4 separate regions of the Homo sapiens genome follow, and regions 1, 2 and 4 are each linked to region 3. The links are contacts of gene promoters, found by promoter capture Hi-C in blood cells and fetal thymus (Javierre and others, 2016). All regions are on one chromosome and are shown on one strand. Each heading gives the region's core, a stretch centred on a gene start or on the middle of the fragment in contact. The rest is flanking DNA. Distances are from core to core; before and after follow the strand shown. Region 1 holds the start of ABCF2 (ATP binding cassette subfamily F member 2). Region 2 holds the start of ASIC3 (acid sensing ion channel subunit 3). Region 3 has its middle 2.4 kb from the start of KRABD3. Region 4 holds the start of ATG9B (autophagy related 9B).

Evidence for each region. The method cuts DNA at HindIII sites, captures the fragments that hold promoters and counts their contacts. A CHiCAGO score of 5 or more calls a contact.
Region 1: a contact is called between the fragment with the promoter of ABCF2 here and a fragment that was not itself captured in region 3, in 1 of 17 cell types (non-activated CD4 T cells). The highest score is 6.6, in non-activated CD4 T cells.
Region 2: the fragment with the promoter of ASIC3 here is called in contact with a fragment that was not itself captured in region 3 in 2 of 17 cell types (non-activated CD4 T cells and naive CD4 T cells); the score reaches 9.3 in non-activated CD4 T cells.
Region 4: a contact is called between the fragment with the promoter of ATG9B here and a fragment that was not itself captured in region 3, in 5 of 17 cell types (non-activated CD4 T cells, total B cells, total CD4 T cells and 2 more). The highest score is 10.1, in non-activated CD4 T cells.

What each region holds. Positions count from the first base shown.
Region 1 is chr7:151,225,840-151,229,007 of GRCh38, reverse strand. It overlaps ABCF2 (ATP binding cassette subfamily F member 2), which reads left to right and starts at 1,803. Exons shown (of 15, transcript NM_007189.3): 1 at 1,803-1,845; 2 at 2,508-2,703. The coding sequence starts at 2,550. It overlaps ABCF2-H2BK1 (ABCF2-H2BK1 readthrough), which reads left to right and starts at 1,803. Exons shown (of 17, transcript NR_160983.1): 1 at 1,803-1,845; 2 at 2,508-2,703. RefSeq lists enhancers at 1,627-1,706, 1,817-1,866 and a silencer at 1,967-2,026. The HindIII fragment of the contact is 13,339 bases long and covers 1-3,053 here.
Region 2 is chr7:151,047,147-151,050,129 of GRCh38, reverse strand. ASIC3 (acid sensing ion channel subunit 3) reads right to left here and starts at 1,599. Exons shown (of 11, transcript NM_004769.4): 1 at 711-1,599; 2 at 1-24. The coding sequence starts at 1,244. ABCB8 (ATP binding cassette subfamily B member 8) reads right to left here. Exons shown (of 16, transcript NM_007188.5): 16 at 2,348-2,983. RefSeq lists an enhancer at 1-87. The HindIII fragment of the contact is 11,911 bases long and covers 1-2,584 here.
Region 3 is chr7:149,711,107-149,714,045 of GRCh38, reverse strand. No RefSeq gene overlaps it. Among named protein-coding and RNA genes, the nearest start is that of KRABD3, 2.4 kb to the left of the region's middle. RefSeq lists a silencer at 274-568. The HindIII fragment of the contact is 1,268 bases long and covers 793-2,060 here.
Region 4 is chr7:151,022,850-151,026,032 of GRCh38, reverse strand. It overlaps ATG9B (autophagy related 9B), which reads left to right and starts at 1,539. Exons shown (of 14, transcript NM_001317056.2): 1 at 1,539-2,159; 2 at 2,303-2,346; 3 at 2,524-2,588; 4 at 2,827-2,988. The coding sequence starts at 1,610. It overlaps LOC124901777 (a long non-coding RNA gene), which reads left to right. Exons shown (of 3, transcript XR_007060593.1): 3 at 1,000-1,038. RefSeq lists an enhancer at 24-628. The HindIII fragment of the contact is 8,592 bases long and covers 1-3,096 here.

The DNA of each region.
Region 1 (3,168 bases), core at 554-3,053, 1.5 Mb before region 3:
CCTGACCTCGTGATCCGCTGGCCTCGGCCTCCCAAAGTGCTGGGATTACAGGCGTGAGCCACCGTGCCCGGCCCATAAATAACTCTTTTGCTTCATACAGAAGGGTTTTACAGTCATTTAACTGTATTCTTTTTGTAACTATATTCCCATTTTACAGAGGAGAACATGTACTTTGCCCAAGGCCACACAATGAAGCATAGAACTGGGGTTATGCTCTTAATTATGCTATGCCAAGTGAGGTCTCCACCTAGGTACCCCAGCAACACACGAAAGTCACTTCGTTTAGGGCACTTAATTTCATGGTGTCAAGGTCTGTTTTTTTTGTTTTTTGTTTTTTTAGAGACAGGGTCTAGTTTTGTCACCCAGTCTGGAGTGCAGTGGTTTGATTATAGCTCACTGCAGCCTTGAACTCCTGGGCTGAAATGATCCTCCCACTACGGCCTTCCAAAGTGCTTGGATTACAGGTGTGAGCCACCACACCCGGCTTGTTTACTTTTCACATGTTCCTTCTTTATTATGAGCTCCCTGAGGTCAGGGAGTGACTTTGCACCATTGCAACTCCAGCACATATATCTGAGCCTGACAGATAGTAGGCACTTCGTTGGTGGAGGATATTCTAGGAAAATGTATGTTCAAAGGCATGCAGGTGTAAAATAGCACGCTTAATCTCCGAACTATTTAAGTAGGTAAGTTCTACTGAAGTATGAGTTTGAGAAGAAAAACTAATTCTCATTGTTTGAGTCACGGACTGTGGGCGAAAAGGTGCCACATTTGGAGAATATGCTCAAAGGGAGCAATAGCTTCCTTTGCTGCCCCAAACGTCACTGATGGTGAGGCTTCTGCTGCACAGGAGCCTGGAGAAGTAACAAAGATCACAAAGGGCCTGCCTTGTACTTGAGGCTAAACATTTGGAGTTTACAATGTAGGTAATGTGAAGTCCTTGAGAGATTGTATTTATTTTTAAACCATCCAGCCCAAAATGTCATGTGAGAGATTTTAAACAGTGAGACTCAAAGGGAAAGTAACGGGCCCGGTAGCATGGCTAACTAATAATAAAACAAATCTCAGCCAAGGGGCCTTTTTATCTCGGGGCCCTTTCCACCAAACTTGCATGGCTTCAGTGGAAACCTAACAATGCGGCAGCGGGGAGGCTAAGCGGCCGAGGTTCCAAAACAACGTCTGGCACCTTCTAAAAGTTTAACAATGAACCAGCCTCTAAAATTAAGGTTTAATGAAACCAAGGCGCTTTCTTTCGTGAAGGAATTCCGTTGGCAACATCTTTGCAGCGATGCCCCGCTTTCTGGAACCCCTCCCTGCCCAGCGCCCCCTTCATTTTAGTCCTCCCCTCACGCTCCCACCTCTCCTCTCCCATTGTTTCGATCTACTCCCGCTGAGGCAAGCTGGGAAGTGTAGTTGCACGCCCTGCTGCCTGAGTCGGTTAGGTAGCTCTAAAAACTCGTAACTCCACAACAGCTCAATGGATTTTCGAGAGGTGGGGTAAAGCCTGAAGGCTCAGCCGGTTTATCCAACGAGCAATCTGGGATTTGCAGTTTCCAGCGCCCGAAGTGCGCCCGCTAGCAGAGAGCTCTTGGACTCTAATCCCGCCCCCTCCCCGAGCCTCGCGCATCCTGATGGCGTCACGCGGCCCCGCGAGGTCTGTGGGATACATAGTAGTCCTCAAGGCGGGTCTCACTCTTGGCCGCTGCAACTTGAGGACTACACTTCCAAGGAGGCAGCGCGGCGCGCCGAGAACCACCCGAGGCCGTGATTGGCTGGTGAGCCGGCCGCACGCGGAGGATCCTAAGGAGCAGCTCTGTTGCGACATAGGCCGAGCAGCGAGGCCCAGTGAGTTAGGGGAAGGGGAGCTGTAGGGAGAGGGTCCCCGCCGGTGAGGGGGAAAGAGAATTAGAAGAGGAAGCAGGGACGGGGTTTGGATGGAGGGCTCTGCGAGGGGGAAGATAGGGCTAAGGGAGAGAAGCTGACGGGCGGGGTGGGGGAGGACCCGGGGGTGACGAGCGTGGAGACTCGGAGGGGACTCACGCGGGCGAGGACGAGTGCGTCCCGGCAAGAGGCTGGGCTCGACGGCCGGGTGATGTGGAGAGGGACGATCGAGAAGAGGCCCGAGACGGACGGGAGGAGGAAGCCCGGAAAGTGAGGCGGCTAGCTGAGTGCGGAGCGCCAAGTTGTAGGGAAACCGGAGACGGAGACCTCCGCTGAGGGGCAGAACCTGGTCCCCAGCCGGAGGCCCTGAAAGAAGGAGCGTTTCCAAAGTGAGGCAGTCCGTGGGGGACTGGTGCCTGTGGGAAGAGATGTTAAGATTAGAAGAGCCGCTGAGAATCGGCATTGGTTTGGGATACCCTGACCAAGTTGGAACAGACGAGGCGGGGGCAGGCCAGGGCATCAGAGGCTTGATGTTGATACGAAGATTCCTGAGAGGGATGGAGCAGGGCCCAGGCATTCTTACTAGTAAGTTTAGGGTTTGGGGGTATCTGTTTGCCTTCCTTCAGGCTCCCTGAAACAACAGTAACCTACCCCTGTGGGTCATCATCATGCCCTCCGACCTGGCCAAGAAGAAGGCAGCCAAAAAGAAGGAGGCTGCCAAAGCTCGACAGCGGCCCAGAAAAGGACATGAAGAAAATGGAGATGTTGTCACAGAACCACAGGTGGCAGAGAAGAATGAGGCCAATGGCAGAGAGACCACAGGTGAATTGAGGGAGGGGTGAGTTGGGGATGGTTGCTAAGACTTAATGCATGCCCCAGCCAGAGTTGGAATCTTGATGCTGGGGGTAGTGGAGAATGTATCTGGTGTCATGCAACTTTTCATGATGAATCAAATCAGTAGAGTTGGAATTCGTGCCACCCTGTCATTGCGCAAGGAAGCCGAAGACGAGGTTCTCACATACTCAGTGGCAAGCGGATGTGAGAGTTGCTGAGCTGCCTTGCTGCTCTATTAGATTGTGAGGAGGGGATCAGTTCCCTGCCCCTTTCTCAGTTTCCATTTCTATGCATGGTGACCAATGTGCCAGGTTCTTTGCTACATTATACAATAAGCTTGTCCTCTCACTGGTGTAGTGGCTCTACCTACAAGAGAGTAACTTATGAGTTGATTTATGGGGTTTTTCCTGGGAGAGAGCTCCCTTTCTGTTATTTATATTTTGGGAAATATTT
Region 2 (2,983 bases), core at 350-2,849, 1.3 Mb before region 3:
GCACTTTCCCATCCGGGTGAAGATCTGGGGCGGGCAGACAGGGTGATGGCCATCTCCCCCAGGCAGGCACATGGTCATGGGACCTCTCCCCACCTCATGGTATGTTTGCGTCTCTTCTTTGAATACTGAAGCCCGCATCTCAATGCCCCCAGCCCCACGCTCCAGTGGGCACATGTTGCAGGACGCTCTTGGGAGCCCATCAACTCAGCTCCTCCACCCCGCCAATCCCCACCAAAGCCCAGGGCACAGCCTACAGGTTTTTCTGTGTTTCTCTGGGAACTGCAGGAAAAGGAAATGGGCCCCTGTGGCTGTCCTCCGGGGCTGGCAGTATGTTGAAAAGGCAGAGGGAAAGCAAGCCCCCCCCACCTCCTGGCAGAGATAGGGGTCTTCTGCCCCAGAATGGTCCCACCATGGAGGACCCCCAGCCCCAGGAGCAGGGCCTCCCTGGGCCAGACCTCAGGCCTAGGGCCAGCCGGGGTCAGTGTGGCCTCACATGCTCCCCTCGGGCTGGGAGACAGAGAAAGCCCCAAGGAGGACAGCTTCCTGGGCTGCACGGAGTGGCACTGGGGGGTGGGGAGTCCATGGCTGGTAGGAAGGAAGAGGTCCCCTGGCTTTGGGGGAGCCTGTGCTGGCTAGGGAATTGTGGGTGCTGGGCAGGGACTGGTCGGCTCTCTGGGTCCCTGGCAGGATAGGTAGGGAGGTCAGCTCACCGTGGTGAAGTTCTCAGGCCCACAAGGTTGGCCACGGAAGCGACAGTCCAGCAGCATGTCATCCAGGGAGTGCCCAGCACGGGCATAGAGTTGCGCCATGTCAAAGGTGGGACTGGGCATGAAGCCGGGCGGTGCAGGGGGCCGGCCCAGGGCGCGCAGGAAGGCGGCGTGCTCTGCGGGATCCAGGCCCAGCAGCGCAGACCCAGCCCAGTGCAGGTCGTTGGGCGTTAGGCGCGAGCGGCGCAGTGGGTTGATGTTGCACAGGGTGACAGCCGGGAAGATGAGCCGGTGGCTTTCTCGCTCATCCAGGGCAGTCTGGTGGTGGAACTCCCTGTAGTAGCGCACCCTCTCAGCCACCTGGTAGAGGAAGGTGGCCACTGACAGGACCACGGCCGCTGCCCACATCCCCCGGCGCAGGCTCAGGCTGCCTGGCCCGAAGACGTGGCCCAGCCCGTGCATCGAGCAGTTGCTGGCGAACACGCGGATGTCCGAGGCTGGCCGCCGGGCCTCCTCTGGGCCTGAGGTGGGCTTCATGGCCAGAACCCAGGAGCGGAACCAGCTACAGAGGCTTGGAAGAAGCGAGAGAGAGTCAGTCAGGGGGCTAAGGAGGCTAAGATAGGATTCAGGAGGCCAGGCAAGGAGAGGAGAAGAGAGGGTGGGAGACAGCCAAGGTTGGAAGGCAGGGAGGCACTAGCCTGGCAGGATTGGAGGAGGTGATCTGGCCGGTCAGGTCCCACTGTTCCTTCCCGAGGAACAGGCGGTGGCTCCACTGGGCTAGGCACTGGGCTGGGGACTCCGCAGCAGACCAGGTGGGACGTAGCTGACCGTGGCAGGCAGGGGCTGCGGAGCGGTGCTGAGCCGGCGGTGCTGAGCCGGCGCTGCTGCAGAGGATTGGGTTTCAGCAGTAGGGGGGAAAGGGGGCCGACAGAGCAGTCTGGGGGGTAGGAGAGGTCCCTAGGGCCCCAGGCTGAGCCATTAGTGCAGCATGGAGGGGGGCATGGCTGTCCAAGACGAGAGGCGCCAGGAGGAAACCGCAGTAATCCTAGGGAGAGCTTGAGAAAAGCCCAGAGGTAGATTGGGCCTGGAGATGCCTTGGGGCCCCCTAGGCTCCCAGTTGCAACCCCTGTACACTGGCCGCGAGGGTCAGTCGCTGACCCCTGGCCTAGCTCCTCTCTCCTTTTGCCTCTGCGGCCTTCCCTCTAGCTTCACCCAGGATCTGTTCCTTCACGAATACCAGAGCTGGCTCTTGGCCAAGCTGGGAAATGGTTGGAAGGCTGGCATCAGCAGATCTCTTCTTTCTGTGCCCCTAGCATCTCAGCCTACACTGGATGGCCAGGGCACTCTTCATGTCCCACTTCCAGGGCCCGTCTGTTTCCTAAGTGTCCCTCTCTCCCTAGGGAGTCAAAGCCTACCTCCCCACACTCAGGCCTCTGAGGATGTTGGCCTCTACAATGGTTATGGGCTCACCTGCCACCCCAGGTAGAACATGGGTGCCCCACCTGCCACCCTCCCGGGTACCACGGGTACCCCACCTGCCATCTCAGGCACAACATGGGTATTCTGTGATTTCCCATCTTACGCTGCTATATCCAGGACCTGGAAAACCTACATTTTTCCAAAGGGCTGCATACCACCCATTATGTGCACATACCATAGTTTATTTAATGACTCCCCCACTGATGGGCACTGGGGGTGTCCAGTCTTTCCATTACAAACAATGTTGCCGTATCATCACACAGATGTGAACTCCCAGGACTTTGGTGGGCTTTTTTTGACCATGAGTGGTAGAAACATGGTTCCACCAGCCAAACGTGTGCACACACCATGCTGCAACTGCTGGGCCACCTGTCTGTCCTCCCAACAGGACACAAGCTTCATGGGGGCAGGGACTGTCCTCATTCCCCATCGTGGGCTCAATGGCACATGACAGGTGCTTGATTAATAAACACTTTGGAAGGACTGAGTACCATGGTTACAGCACAGGCGTACCAGCTCCCCAGAGCCACAGTGCCATGCTTTGCAAGTATTTACTGTAGATGATCCCACTCACACTCTCAAAACAGGCATTCAGCATCAAGCACAGCTAGGCTCCCACTCTCCACTGTGGAGCGAAGGCCGAGGCGAGGTTAGGAAGACGGCGCGGCTCCTGCGGTCTAGCTCTTCCAGCTGGACTAGCCAAGGGGTTTCACTGCTTCTCTAGGGGGCGGGTGAAGGGCTGGATTTAAAGAAGCCGCCCAGAAGATATAAATCTGGTGTCAGAGGCATTTTGGGCA
Region 3 (2,939 bases), core at 177-2,676:
GGTCCCACGCAGAGGAGACTCTGCTCTGAGTTTGGAAGCCCCGTCCAGACCTTGCGGCCCAGACAGCGCTCTGCCTGGGCAATATCGGAGGGAAGGAAAGGGAATTCCTCGCCCAGTCGCCCGGGGCTGGCCCTTGCAGCCGCGCCGGCCATGATCACGGACTCGGGTACGATGCCGACAACCCCTCGTCCCGGCCTCCGAGGAAAGGCGCACGCCCACTCGGGCAAAGCCCCCTCGGTCATACCCGAGACACCTTAGACACAGGACCGGCGTGTGCGCAGCCTGCTGAACAAGGATTTGAAGATATCACAAGGCCCCACCTCGCGGAAAGGGAAAACTTAAAAGTCCAACTTTTCAAGAGCCCTACAGGCCACAGCCCTCAGGGTAAGTCGCCTCCTGGGCTTTAGGCCGGGTCCCACCTCCGTGCCGAGGTGAGGCGGGCTCCTTACAGTAATGTGTTCCTGCTCCCAGCTCCTCTCCACCGCCCACCCTCCGGCCCGGGATCCCTAAACGTTAAAACCCCCTAAATCAGGGGTCCCCAACCTTTTGGGCCAGAGCCCGGTTTTGTGGAAGGGAATTTTTGCATGGACTGGGAGGGGGGTTGTTTTGGGATGAAACTGTTCCAACTCAGATCACCAGGCATTAGATTCTCCTAAGGAGCCCGCAACCTGGATCCCGCATTCACAACAGGGTTCTGGCTCCTATGAGAATCCAGCACCTGCAGATCTGACAGGAGGCAGAGCTCAGGGGTAATGCGAGCAAGGGGGAGTGGCTGTAACTACAGATAAAGCTTTCCCTGGCTTGCCCGCAGCTCACCTCCTGCTGCACTGCCCAGCTCCTAACAGGCCAGGACTGGTACTGGTCCATAGCCCAGGGACTGGGGACCCCTGCCTTAAACTTAAACACCTGTAGAAAGAAATCTCTATCCAAGTAAGATGCACCTTTGTTTTAAGCTGTGCAGATTCTTGGCACCTCTTTGACTCAAACGTCCACTTCCTGGCTAGGCTTCCTGCCCCATTTGTGGACCATCAGTCGCTAAAAGCAGTTCACCAACATGAAATTTGCTGCATGGCCAATTATTTAAATTATGGAGACACTTCCTGGCACCCCTATCCCCCAAATTTTAGTTGCGCCTTTGACCCTGTAGACCTGTATTTACCTCAGCCCGTGTGTGTGCGTTAAAAAATAGTTGTGAAGACCTGTCCTGAACCAGGTTTATTGGATGGCTCTGGACACAGACAAAGGCAGGAGTGGAGCTGAAACACATCTTTAAAAATTCCTTGGCTGGGGCCAGGCACGGTGGCTCACACCTGTAATCCCAGCACTTTGGGAGGCCAAGGCTGGTGAATTGCTTGGGCCTGGGAGTTCCAAACCAGCCTAGGCAACATGATGAAACCCCATCTCTACAAAAAATGCAAAAATTAGCCAGGTGCAGTGGTGTACCCCTGTAGTCCCAGCTGCTTGGAAGGCTGAGGTGGGAGAATCTCTTGAGCCCAGGAGGCAGAGGGGGGTTGCAGTGAGCCAAGATCACACCACAGCACTCCAGCCTGGGTGACAGAGCAAGACCCTGTCTCAAAAAAAAAAAAAAAAAATTTCAATAATTCAGATTGGTTGTTTAGCAAGTTGATATTCAGTGGTTTAGCTTTTACCATATTTGGCTTTTGGCTATCTGGTCATTCTGTGAATTGACTTTTGGTGAACTAGTCGGCACTTTTCCCAAATGAATCTAAAGGCAAATTGTGCTGGCCAGTCCTCCATGTGAAAATGGCTGCAACTTTAAAATATTTTCTGATTTTCATTATTATTTCTTTTTCCATCCATGAGATTATTTAAAAGTACTTTTTAATTTCCAAATACGAATCTTTTTATGAGTTATTTTGTTTTTGAGTTTTGCCTTATAGTCAGAGAATGTAGTAAGTGATGTTGATTTTTTAGAATTTTCTGAGACTGCTTTGTGGCCAAGTGTGCAATAGATGTTTGAAAATGTTCCATGTTTGCCTAAAAGAGTACATATATTCTAATATTGGTGTAGGATCTAGTTAGAGCTGTAAAATCAAGCTTATCAATCATGTGGTTTATGCCTTCTATAGTTTATCATCTTTTTGCATTTGGAACTATCAGTTACTAAAGAGGTGTTAAAATCTCATATCAAGTTTGTGCATTTGTCAATTTCTCCCTGAATTTGTGAGAATTTTCGCTTCATGTGTTTGGAGGCTGTGTGCTTACAAATTTAGAATTGTAGTATTTTCCTGGAGAATTGTTCATTCTATTATTAGAAAGTAACACTATCCCTAATAATAGTCTTTGTCTATAATCCATTTTGTTTGATATTGCTGCAGCTACACTAACTTTATTTTGGCAAGTATTTCTTTGATATATCTTTTCCTGTCCTTTTACTTTCAAACTTTGTGTATATTTATGTTTCAGATGTGTGTCATATAAGAGCATGTAGCTAGATTTTGTTGTTGCTGCTGAATCCAGTCTGACAATCTCTATCATAATCATGAATCTACTGATTTGAAAGTTATGCTTTCCTTTTTTATTCATTTGGGGGTTACTCTGTAATTTTACACACATATTTGGTTTAATAGAATCTAATATTACTACTTCTGATCTTCTCGCAAATGATAGAAAGCTTTTTGAATATGAGTTTAATCACACTCTTCCCCTTCTGTCTTGTGTGTAATTATTGTTCTTTTTAGTTACATCTTGTTTTTAAGACTCTCTCCTGATATTTGAAGTCATTGTTTTTGTTTTATACAATCTATGCTGTTTAGATTTACCAATGTGCTTACCACTATCTTTGTTCACTCTTTTTTCTTGCCTCTTTCTTCTTCCTTCTGGGTTCAATGTTCTTCCTGAAGCAGAACTTTTAAAATTTATTTCAGCAAGGATATTTTAGAAGTGGATACTTTCAGTTATATAAAATGTCTTACATT
Region 4 (3,183 bases), core at 290-2,789, 1.3 Mb before region 3:
CCTCCTTGTTGAGGTGACAACAAGGAACTCAGTTCAGCTCCTCCCTGGGTATCCAAATTATCCTTCCAAGTCCCAGACTCACAGCTGTCCTCCCTTCTGATTCAGCCCTGATGCTTTTCAGGGGGTCCCAGAAGTGGGATCCGGACTTGAGAGAATGTCACAGTTGAAAATGATAAGGATGCAAACGGAATGGAACTTTCAGAGAACCCCAATTTTCTACTCTAAGTTCTCCAAACCAACTCTCAAATCCAAGATAGCTGCCTTTCCTTTCTTCACCTCCTCTTCTTAGTTTTCCCCAACTTGGCTGCAAAGTCAGCCTCCCCTCTTCTCTTCCTTAGCACCTCAGACCAATAAAACATGCAACCTTTTCTTATTCTTTTTAAAAAATTTATTTTTGACCAGGCGCAGTGGCTCACGCCTGTAATGCCAGCACTTTGGGAGGCCAAGGCGGGTGGATCACGAGGTCAGGAGTTCAAGACCAGCCTGGCCAACATGGTGAAACCCCATCTCTACTAAAAATACAAAAAATTAGCTGGGTGTGGTGGCACACACCTGTAGTCTCAGCTACTCAGGAGGCTGAAGCAGAAGAATCACTTGAACTTGGGAGGCGGAGGTTGCAGTGAGCCGAGATTGTGCCACTATACTCCAGTCTGGGTGACAGAGTGAGACTGCCTCAAAAAGAAAAAAAATTATTTTGTTTGTTTTTTAGATTTTGTAGAGATGGTGTTTCCCTAAGTTGCTCAGGCTGGTCTCGAACTCCTGGCCTCAAGTGATCCTCTCGCCCGGGCCTCCCAAAGTCCTGGGATTACGGGTGTAAGCCAACATGCCTGGCCCCTTTACTTCTTCTTTTCTGTTTTGGTCACAAAACATTTCTCTGTTGATCACTGTAGTGTGTGTGTGGAGGGAAGTGGGGGAGGTACACTCTTAAGAAATGAAATAGTTAACATCTTGGTCCTAAGATTTGTTGTAGAGATGGAGTCTTCTCATTCTGTTCCCCAGGCTGGTCTTGAACTCCTGGCCTCAAGCAATCCTCTTTCCTCGGCTTCCCAAAGTGCTGAGATTGATTACAAGTGTGAGGTACTGCGCCCTGCTACAATCCTTTAATAGGATGTTTTTGGGGGGGGTGGCAGGGGGCAGGATCTAGCTCACTGTAACCTATACTGTTCCAGTGTAACCTGCACCAAGCCATCCTCCCACCTCAGTCTCTTGAGTAGCTAGGAACACAAGCACACATCACCACACCTGGCTCTAACACGATTTTGCTTTTTGCTTTTGTCATTTTGGCTGCTGTTCTTTTTATCTTTCATTCATTCAAGGTCTGAAGATGGAGATAATAGGAATCTTCTCATCTCAATGTGCTCTTTGGCCCCTCCTCTTAAACTGATGCCCCTCTCAGGCCCTGAGGGATTTGGCCTCAGGTTGCCCTGGAAGGGGTGTGAGTGATCAGACAGGTGACTGAGAGCTGGGACGCCTGAGGCCTGCCTAGGCTGAGTCACCTAGTAATGTTGTTGTCATTGTTCCTGTTGAAGTCCCAGCTCAGTGTCACAGACCTTTGTGGAAGCAACAACAGCTCCCATCCTTCCAACCTTTCTGGAGAAGCCGTGGCCTGATGGTGAGCCGAATGGGCTGGGGGGGGAGAAGAAGGCGGCTGGGGCGGTGGGGAGATCTGGGGCCCGGATCGGTGCCCCTCCTCCCCATGCCACTGCCACCTCCTCCTCCTCCTTCATGCCGGGGACCTGGGGGAGGGAGGATCTCCATCTTCTCTCTGTCCCCTGCCCCTCATACAAGAAGCTCCCCCTCCTCATTTTCCCCTCCCACCGCAGGGCCCCCTTGCTCAGTGCTACAGGGGACAGGGGCTTCTCAGTCTTGCCACAGTGCTCTCCCTATCCCAGCCACCCCCCCAACACAGGCTCAACCTGCAATGACACCTGCCTCTGCATCTCCCTCCTGGGGATCCCACTCCACCCCACCCCTGGCCCCGGCAACCCCCACTCCCTCACAGCAGTGCCCCCAGGACTCTCCTGGGCTGCGGGTAGGCCCTTTGATCCCTGAACAGGATTATGAGCGGCTGGAGGACTGTGACCCTGAGGGGTCCCAAGACTCACCCATCCACGGGGAGGAGCAGCAACCCCTGCTTCATGTCCCTGAAGGGCTCCGAGGTATGTGTGTGGGTGTGGGTGGGAGAGGGTTAGTGGTGCCTGGGAGCTCCAGTACTTATCCCAGGCTGGGCCTCTGGCAGCGGGTTGAGAACGTGGAGAATTGATCACATGCCAGGGGCTGACACTCTCCCCTCTGTGCCCAGGCTCCTGGCATCACATCCAGAACCTGGACAGTTTCTTCACCAAGATATCCTTTGCGCTAGGCCTGCAGAGGTGGCATGGGAAGGTCCTCTTGGAGCTGGCACTGTTCTTGGCAGGGAGACTCCGTGAGGGCGTCATGGGTGGGAGACTTGTTGGGGCTGAGGGGAGGTGTCCTCAGGAGAGGCCCCCCGTGCCTCAGGCTTGTTCCTTGACACGCAGCCACATCTACAGCTACCACCAGCGGAATGGCTTTGCCTGCATCTTGCTGGAGGATGTCTTCCAGCTGGGGTGAGACGCTTAGCCCGGGCCCGGAACTCGGTCCCCTGGGCCCATGGCTTCCTTCTGTCATTTTGCTTCCTTAATTGTGCCAGCTGCTTCCATCCCATGCTTTCCCGAGCAGCCCAAGGGCTCAGCAGGGGCAGGGTCAGGGAGGATAACCATGGGCTGCTCTGGGGGCTGGGGCAGGAGCCCACCTGGCTGTCCCTGATCACTGCAGCATCCCGGCACCCCCCCTTCCTCCCGGCAGACAATTTATTTTCATTGTCACCTTCACAACCTTCCTCCTTCGATGCGTGGATTACAATGTTCTCTTTGCCAACCAACCAAGTAACCATACCAGACCTGGGCCGTTCCACAGCAAAGTGACCCTGTCAGATGCCATCCTACCCTCAGCCCAGTGTGCTGAGAGGTTAGTGACAACCTGGTGGGGCCCTGGGGGTGAAGCATGGGCAGTGGGTAGAGGAGTAGACGGGAGCCCCACTTTGTCCCGTCATCTAGATCAGCAGTTCTCAAAGCTTTTGGTCTTAGGACCAAAAATACACTTAATATACTTTAAGTTGTACTTAAGTGTATTAAGTTGTACTTAAAGTGTATTAAGTATATC